Linked DNA regions of Homo sapiens: all the other regions are linked to region 2. The links are contacts of gene promoters, found by promoter capture Hi-C in blood cells and fetal thymus (Javierre and others, 2016). All regions are on one chromosome and are shown on one strand. Each heading gives the region's core, a stretch centred on a gene start or on the middle of the fragment in contact. The rest is flanking DNA. Distances are from core to core; before and after follow the strand shown.

The links. The method cuts DNA at HindIII sites, captures the fragments that hold promoters and counts their contacts. A CHiCAGO score of 5 or more calls a contact.
Region 1: a contact is called between a fragment that was not itself captured here and the fragment with the promoter of EFHC1 in region 2, in 1 of 17 cell types (non-activated CD4 T cells). The highest score is 7.0, in non-activated CD4 T cells.
Region 3: a contact is called between a fragment that was not itself captured here and the fragment with the promoter of EFHC1 in region 2, in 2 of 17 cell types (fetal thymus and non-activated CD4 T cells). The highest score is 5.9, in fetal thymus.

Annotation. Positions count from the first base shown.
Region 1 is chr6:53,643,545-53,646,519 of GRCh38, reverse strand. No RefSeq gene overlaps it. Among named protein-coding and RNA genes, the nearest start is that of LINC01564, 17 kb to the right of the region's middle. RefSeq lists an enhancer at 2,755-2,975. The HindIII fragment of the contact is 4,292 bases long and covers 1-2,975 here.
Region 2 is chr6:52,418,576-52,421,696 of GRCh38, reverse strand. It overlaps EFHC1 (EF-hand domain containing 1), which reads right to left and starts at 1,355. Exons shown (of 11, transcript NM_018100.4): 1 at 1,224-1,355. The coding sequence starts at 1,286. LOC124901331 (a long non-coding RNA gene) reads left to right here and starts at 716. Exons shown (of 2, transcript XR_007059611.1): 1 at 716-1,488. RefSeq lists an enhancer at 795-1,386. The HindIII fragment of the contact is 6,560 bases long and covers 1-3,121 here.
Region 3 is chr6:53,483,275-53,486,236 of GRCh38, reverse strand. All of the region lies in intron 3 of GCLC-AS1 (GCLC antisense RNA 1), which reads right to left. Among named protein-coding and RNA genes, the nearest start is that of GCLC-AS1, 53 kb to the right of the region's middle. The HindIII fragment of the contact is 811 bases long and covers 956-1,766 here.

The sequences.
Region 1 (2,975 bases), core at 180-2,679, 1.2 Mb before region 2:
ACTTAATTCCTGCCACTCTAGCCATACTAGCAGGTTCCCAATACATGACGATTTGGGGAGAAGAGAACACATGTAGAGTCTAAAAGAGGACATACACGCATCTGTTCTTAATCCCCATTAGCAGAAGAGTATTCCTGAAAGGAAGAGGGGGAAGGAAGCTAAATGGTGGTAATCTGTCTCTCAAGTTTTATTCTGCAATATTAATGAAACGTTTCCATTTTTTGCAGAGTTCCAAACTGAAAAATGCTTTATTTCATTACAATTCTGCATATAAGTAGCAAAGAAAATTCTGTATGCCAAAAGAATCCTTTGTTGTTTAACAAATGTTCATTAGACATAATTATTTCCCAGCCTCATGCCCCTGATCATATTCTGTCTTTCTCTGCCCTGCTCTGTGCTCCGTCCCCTAGGGACTACATCATCCAGACTCAGGCTCTTTGGCTGAACATTTTATTCATCCAACGGGAGGTATCAGAAGGAGGTCAGAGGGCAGAAGCAAGTGGTTGGGATATTTTTTTCTGCCCTCTTCAGGCTTCAGCACTGTGCTTCTGGCCTAGGCTGTAACTTTCAACAACTCCAGCCCAGTGGCCTTTCCTCCCTTGTTCAAATCTCGCCATGCTTACGTGCCATCATAGCTTACCATCTCTGGATATTTTCCTGTTGATTTATGTTCTGCCATCTCTTTTAGAATATCATCCTTAAAGGTGAAAATTTTGTCTCGTTCACAGATGTACCTCCGGTGTCTAGAGTCATGCCTGGTGTATAGCAGGAGATCAATTTTTTGTGTGTGAAGTAAATAAGTGAATGAGTGAATGAAACAATAAAACCATCATGACCTACTGCTTGCTGATCTCTATTCCAATATTACTCATTTATTTAATCAGCAAATACTTATTAAGCATCTACTGCATGCAAAACACTTTCCCTTACCCCAGTAATCACTAGAGGGAAGCACATTAAAGTACACAACCATGATAACTAGGACTTTTCCAAACTTGCTGCAAGCCAAAAATTAAATTGTTAAGACACATTACAGGTGGAAGGAGTTATGCAACCAACACTTTCCATTTCTCAAAAAAAAAAAACTCAAAAGATTGATATCTCTATAGCTATGTCCCCATTAAAATTTTTTAAATTGCATGCATCTTCTCTATAATTGCCAATTCTTCAAAAACAGGTTAGGACTAGCTTCATCATTTAGCTAGTAAGCATTTATTCAGTGCTTACTAAGTACACACACACACACACATCATTTAAGTGTGAGTGTGTGCATATATACATATATTCTGCGTGTGTGTGTGTGTGTGTAAAATATATGGTCTTATGCTTGCATTCTGAAATTAAGAGCCATTATGATTACATCACCTTGTCTCATATGAGAGCTAAATAAGTTAATAGGTAAAGTTCATTTCTTTAAATACTTCTCATGGGCAGCCATGTTTTCAGAGACACGGGGAAACCTGAGAAGGTAGAGCCTACACACAGATACCCAGGGGCCTTTTTCTGACTCAAAAATGAGAGATAAACAGGGACTCCTGGAAGCAGAACCCTTGCAGCCCAATCCCTGGTGCCCTTCGGAACCCCAGACCAGTCTCCATTGAAGGTGTTTCATTTCCCTCATGGGTAAAAATACTGAGGACAAGTCACTCAATGCAGAGTCCTTGGAGATGGACAGTGAATCTCTGGGCCTGAGTCTTCCAGAGACACTTGGAGCGCAGTAGTCCATTCTCATGCTGCTAATAAAGACATAACTGGGACTGAGTAGTTTATAAAGGAAAGAGGTTTAATTGACTCACACAGTTCAGCATGGCTGGGGAGGCCTCAGGAAACTTACAACCATGGCTGAAGGGGAAGCAAGTACATCCTTCTTCACATGGCGGCAGCAACAAGAAGTGCTGAGCAAAAGGGGGAAAAGCCCCTTATAAAACCATCAGATCTCGTGAGAACTCACTCACTATCACCAGAACTGCCCCCATCATTCAACTACCTCCCACCGGATCCTTCCCCCGGGGATTATGGGAACTACAATTCAAGATGAGATTTGGGTGAGGACATAACCAAGCCATATCAAGGAGAGTGAGATATTGCATAAAGAAATAAGGGGTGGCAAATTCAGCTGAAAGAAGGACCGGCTCCTGCTTTGGAGGCACTCCACAGAGCCACATTTCTGAAGATGGTGAGGTGTAATGGAGACTGATCCTGGGACAGCTTTGGGAGCCTGCTGGAGATGGCAGGGCCACAAATGGACAAACGGAAAGAGTTACTATTGGAGGGGAGCCTCCCCATGTGGGACTGCTTGTTTTGAACAGGGACAAACTAGCTCCACCGAAAATCCATGAAATGTTAAGGCATTGCCAATTTCCATCATTCCCCCTGAATTCTTAAATTAAAATCCCACTTGATAAATTAGTGCCTTTGATGAAGCCATCCAGTCCTCTGCCCCTGCCTGCCGGCACTGACCAAATACAAAAGAAAGAGGGAGTCTTGAGGGGAAGGAGAGCCCTGTGACCTCTGCAGGAAGATCAGGGTTCCAGGCTGCAGAAGAAAACTTTAAATCAAGGGAAGAATGACCTTGCCCAGGGCTTTAGGCACATGGGTCCTCCGCTGCAGCATGTGCCACTGTCACTCCCTGACATGCGCTATGCAGAGAACAGGTATTACACAGCACTGCTTTGATGTCTCCCAGGTTTAATGTAGGGCCAAATAGGGCCTAGAGTGGCCAGAGCTCACAGGCTGGTTCCTCTGGCTGTGGCCGGCCTTTTCCATTTTTCCCTAATGCATTGTACAAACATTATCTCTTTCCATTTGTGCAGTGGGTAGAGCAAAGTTACAGAGCACTACTTTATAAAGCCTGGCCTCCCCCTCTCCCAGCCCCACTGATGCCTTTTGCTTAGTCACATGTTTGGGTCAAAGACAGAACACTCAGCAAGGTTCAGTGTGGTTGGCTGTGGCTCACAGAATACAGGCAACCAGGG
Region 2 (3,121 bases), core at 106-2,605:
ACCAAACTTTCGATTTCATTCTAAATTGATTCTTCCAAAGAAAATAAATTGACAAAATATTTTAACTTTGTGAAGCTGGAGAGGAAGGCAAGAGTTTAAAGTATTAAACTATATAAACATAAACTACTGTTAGCTCATCTATGATGATCAGTCTACTGAATCTCATTATTGATTTTTCAGCACATACATTTCAGTAGCCCTGTCAGAATTAAAACAAACCAAATAATTTTAAGAGCTAAACTGTGGCAAGAGTTTAAAAAAAAAAAAGAATCCAAGCTGCTGCTACTTTTTAAAAAATTTTGTCTAGAAAATGCAAATAAAAACACAAGGTTGGGGAAGGAGCAAAACAAAATCTAAACAGGAATCTTTTTACAAAAACGTTAGAATAAAAAGAACAGGGCCGGGGAAGAATAAACAGCAACTAATCAATTCTTGAGGGAACTGGAAAGGAATATCTCTTACAAAGCAGGGAAAGATGCTTTGGGAGGAAGGTGAGCAAGTTTTGGGGAAAACCCGCAACGGAGAAAGAAAGGAATGGGGAGAGGATGGGACTAAATTGTGGAAAATGTAGAAGATGGAGAAAAAAGAATGGGGTTGGATGCAAGCATAAAGAAGAAAGGAAAAAGACCTGGCGGAAAGAAGAGGAGCGGAATCGATATACATACAAAACAGGAAATGGAGCTGGGAGTGGGAGATACTACCGGGTACAGGATTCAGAAGAGGAAGAGGTGGGGCGGGAATGACGGACCTGTGGGAATGAGGTTGAAGGTGCATAGTGGCGGGGGGTTTTAAGGGCGGCGATGGACGGAGACAGGTTATGATGTGAGAGAACGAGCTAGGGAGAGGGCCCAGAGATAGGTTGGGAGTAGGGTGGGGGAAACAGTGATCTAAAGGGACAAGAGGCAGGGGCTTGGAGGAGCAGGGCCGTAAGAAAGAACGCGGCTAACGGGATGAGAATGAAGGCGCCAACACACTGCCAAGATGGAGTGGGAAAAAACTAGAGAGGGATGAGGCGGAGGGCAAAGGATCGGAGAGAGGGGATGAGGATGGCTAGGGAAGAACGGCAGAAGTTCGGCCCAGAATAAAGAACAGGGTCAGGACAGAAGACGTGTTTGGAGAGAAGACAGACTTGAGTGGAGGGGAATGGAGGTGCACTGAGCGGGGAAACCTCCTGGGCTGCTGGAAGGTGGGGACAGGTGGGAGTCTGGCAGATAACTGCTCACCGTAGAGTCCTTAAAGGACGTGCCCGGAAGAAAGGGCAAGCCATGCACGGGATTGGACACCATTGCAGCCGGTACCACCGCCGCCACCTAGGTCCTGCTTCGTCCTCTCCGGTTGCCCAGGCGACAAGCAGTGTTCGCGGGCACCTCCAGGATCCATGGTAACGCTAAACATCCGGAACTCCCACGAGCGGAAGGCGGGGCCAGGAGGCGCAGGCATCACAGGAGGTTTGCGCGTGCGCCATCCGCAGGACTCCGCGTTCTCGCGGTAAGTGGGCCGCGGCCTTGGAGCGCGGCTAGTGGGCGTGGTTGTGTCGGCCCCTCCTCTTCCGCTTCGCCCCGCCCCGCTCCCGGAGGATGAGACGTGGGAGCTGTTGGGTGGCGCGGGGAAAGGCGGGTGTAGCGAGGCGGTAGTTCTCGCTGTGAGATCCGGGGTCCGAGCAGGCCCTTAGATGAGTTGCAGAGAGGGACGTTCCTTCTCTCCTTCCACCTAGTCCTGGCGGACCTCACTGCGCCCCGCCAACGCTGTGAGCTCAGGCACTCTTTTCTCCCCCCTCTGCCCCATTTCACACAGAAGTGTAAATGGTCGGTCCAGTTGGCAGTGCTACTAAACTAGACCCATGCTTCTTGTAGGCAGGGGCCGAGGATTACCCATGATTGTGTTTCTGTTGCTCAGGGATGGTCAATGAACTAATGCAATCATCTCATCCTTAATTCTCCCACTGCCACATTGTATTTTTCCCCTTTTAACTCTTTTTTAAAATCAATCTTTCTCTTTCTTTCTTTCCTTTCTTTCTTTCCTTTCTTTTCTTTTTCCTTCCTTCCTTCCCTCCTTCCCTCCGTCCCTCCTTCCCTCCTTGCTTCCTTCCTTCCTTCCCTACTTCCCTCCTTCCGTAGAGATAGTGTCCCACTATGTTGCCCAAGCTGGTCTCGAATTCCTGGGGTCAAGCGATCCGCCCACCTCGCCTCCCAAAGTGCTGGGATTACAGGCATGAGCCACCGCGCCCAGCTCTCTTTATTCTACCATCAATCCCTTCGGTTAAACACCTTTGTTTTTGTAGGGAAAGCCTTGAATATGTGCTGCAGGGCAGGGTGCACTCTGATAGGTACTTGATTTTTGTTGACTGAAGAGCTGCAGGTTGAAGGGTGGTCACCTCAATCCCTCGTTTGTACCTGCAGCTGCAATGAAAAAGATCAGAACCACTAGGAGGAACACAGCTCCTTCAAAGAGAAAGACTAAGTCTTGGGAAAGAAGCAGATAAGTGAGGTGAAATATTGTCAGCATCATAGGTATAGCCTTTGATGCTTTTTACAAAACTTGCTTAAATTATTTTTTCTTAAAAGAAACATAATCCTATTCCTGAAACATTTTTTTTGGGGGGGGGGGGAGAAAGCTATCCATCATTGCTGAGGAGCTTAAAAATAAAAAGTAATCAAAACCCACGTGCCGAGAGATTTGGATTCATTAGGTCTGACATGGAGGCCAGGAATCTGATTTTTGTAACAGGCGTTTGTGACAAGCCAGTTTAGGAACATGATAGAGTAATAAGCCAGACACAGAAGGCATATCTCAGTGTCACAGGTAGTTTACTGCCAATACAGACAGCAGCTTTACTTTTATTGCTGCTTGTCAGAGCAAATCCCCCTGTTGGGTTTCACTAATTTGTGTGACGCTCAGGAGGCCCAGGACATGAATGCATTAAGTGGCACCTGAGGCAGTTATTGATGCCTGCTTACCATACCCTGCCCAGAGAGTTTCCTTTCTAACTCTTCTCCCCTTACTACATCTGTTTCCTGTTCTTGTCCTTTTTTAAACCTCTTTTTCTTTTTCTGTAAGTACATTACCTTAATGCAGCAGTTTAATACATTTTTTAAAAACTTCAATGAAGTTTTTTTGCCTT
Region 3 (2,962 bases), core at 112-2,611, 1.1 Mb before region 2:
AGACGGTGTAATTGTACCAGATGAAGTCTGTACTCATATAATCATACCAGTGGACATTTATTGCACAAATCTAAATGCTTTCCATGTGGCATCTCAGTCTTTACTAGAACCCCTGCAGTAGGATATTATGATTGCCATTTTGCCAGTAATGAAACTAAAGCATAATCAGGTTAAGCAACTTGCCCATTTTTTTTTTCAATCCAAGACAATCCTGATTTGGCTAATCTTGACTGATATTTTGGTGCTTATATATAAAGAGCTCTGGATTATTTGTCAAAAGTCTTGAGGGGGTGGGCACAGTGGCTCATGCCTGTAATCCCAGCACCTTAGGAGACCAAGGCGGGAGGATCACTTGAAGCCAGAAGTTTCAGACCAGCTTGGGCAATATAGTGAGATTCCTGTCTCTGCCCAAAAAAATAAAAATTAGCTGGGCACAGTGGTGTGTGAGTGTAGTCCCAGCTACTCAGGAGGCTGAGGCGGAAGGATTGTTTGAACCCAGGGCTTCAAGGTTACAGTGAGCTACAAATGTGCCATCGCACTCCAGCCCGGGCAATAGAGTTAGATCCTGTCTCAAAAAAAAAAAAAAAAGAAAAGAAAAGAAAACAAAAGTCTTGGGTTCTAGTCCCACTTTACTGCTGATTAACATTTTAACTTGAAGAGTGATTCAATCACTCGGTTGCCCCACTTGAAAAAAAAAAAAAGCTGGAGTACATATCTAGAATCCTTACCACACGAACATTCTATATTTTTGGTTCTTTGACTCTAAAATGGTCAGCTTAAAAGAGTGTTTTCCATCCCTCTTTTGGCTGTTAGAGCCATCCCTGGTGACTTTACCCCTTTCCCCTGAACCTTTCATATGTTTATTGAGCATCCACTCCAGTTGTGCACTGGTGTTTGTTTTCACGGGGTTACTGGTACCCTCCACCCTCACCCCTCTTTCTCCCTGCAGAAAGCTTTTCTAATACTTTCAGCCGTGGTCAATTTCAGGTGATAGCAATGGTAATCATTTATTGAGTACTTACCAAATGCTAGAGACTGACACAGGCTATGTCATTTTTTCAATACCAAGCCCTGTGAAATGGGTACTATCAGACCATTTTTACACCTGTGGCTTAGAAGACTTAAATGTCTAGTGTAAGGGCGGTTGTAGTGGTAGGCAGAGGCAGGTCTCAAACCCTCGCCTACCTAACTCAGACACACTTGGCAATACTATATATCTCTTTAAGCCTTTCAGAGGATATGTTTTAGGAGGTGGATTGTTCCATTTTATATATATATGAACATGATAGACAGACAGATAGATAGATAAATAGATAGAGATAATTTTAAACGTGCTCACTTTCATTTATGAAAATTTACATTTGATAACTAAAAGAGCCTTGCAATTCCAGCATCTCCCTCATGGTGGCAGTAGAAGACTAAGTCATGTACACGCAGCCTCCAGCACCAACAACTAACCCAGAAGAAACCTCCTTAATAAATCAGCTTTTGGTCAAGATTGGTGTTACGTAAAATGCAAAATTAGGACCCTCGGAAGGGGAAAAAAAGAGTCTCAAGTATCTAGGTTATTGACCCCAGAAACAAAAGAAATTTGACAAACTTGCAAAACAGAGACAACAACTTCCTATGGGGGAAAAAAAAACAAAGCAACTACTTGTTGCTGCCCACCCGTTTAGTAACTGGCCTTGGTAGTCTTCCAGCAGCAAGCACAATAGCCTTGTCCACAGATGCTTTTCCCATTTCCTCGGTCCCCTTGAAACCAAGCTTTTGAGAACAAATAGTTTATTTCTCCTTTCTTAATTTGCTCTGAAGGTTTTTAACACAGCGATAACTGGCATATAGAAATTTCACATATTTTTCTTGATCACTATGGCCTATCAACCCCCGCCTGATGATTAAATGAAGGACGATGTATCCAAGGTTCTTAAAGAACTTGGTTGCAACGAATGAACACAAAAAACACCAGACAATAAACATGTATTGAATTATATCTGGGTACAGTAGACACCATTGGGCAGACTTCAGAATTAGCCCCCGGAAGTTTTGCTTTTGCTTGACTCTTGGTCATAGCTGATTGGACTAGAAGTGAACACCTGACTCAGGAGGAGGAAGTTCATTGGCTGACCAGGAGCCAATTAGGGTCTCTCTCTTGAGAACTCTGACTAAGAGACAGAGATGCAGGTTATTTAGTCCAGTTGCGGGTGTAGCATTAGACAGATATAAAACCCAAGAACTCTTGGTACTGAGGCCTGGTTGTTCAACTTTCCTCGGATTTTAGGGGGTGACCAGGATCCCTCCCAGCAAAGTATCATTTTTGTTTAAGCTTAATTTCAGTGGGTTATGTTACATGCATTCTCCATCAAAGACTCCAAGCCCTGTGCAAAGTGCAGTGAGGGCATACAAAGAATTTATGACATTTCCCTGCTCTCCTGGGTATGGGTAATTTTCCTTGCTGTAGAGAGAACAGGGTCTCTGGAATTCAACCCACCTTTGTGACCCTGTGAATGTTCCTTTTTTTCTCTCTCAGAGATTCAACTTTGTTCTCAGTAACATGGAAATGATAGCATCTGCCTAACAGTCATTTTGAACAGGAAGCGTCCCTCTGGCCGGGTGCCTCGTGCATGGCAGATTATCAGTAAATGTCAGCCTCTGCACTGCTTTGCAAGTAGGTCCTTTGGCCGCTCTCAAATGCAAGTCACACAAAGATTGTGGGAGTTTTTTTTTTTTTTTTTTAAATAGAAAATACATCATTCCTATAGAGAAAAAAATACAGTCACATTTAATAATGGCTGTTTAGACAGGGACAGGTTCTCTCGAGCCTCTGGAGGTGGTGGAAAGTGGAGGTGGGTCACTGATCCCAAGAAATAAGCTACAGGACTGAGGCCAGTTTCTGGAGAGGGGATGGTCACTCCTATATTTAAGCCAATAGTGAAGGTTAAGTAGGAGAGTCCAGAGGGACCCT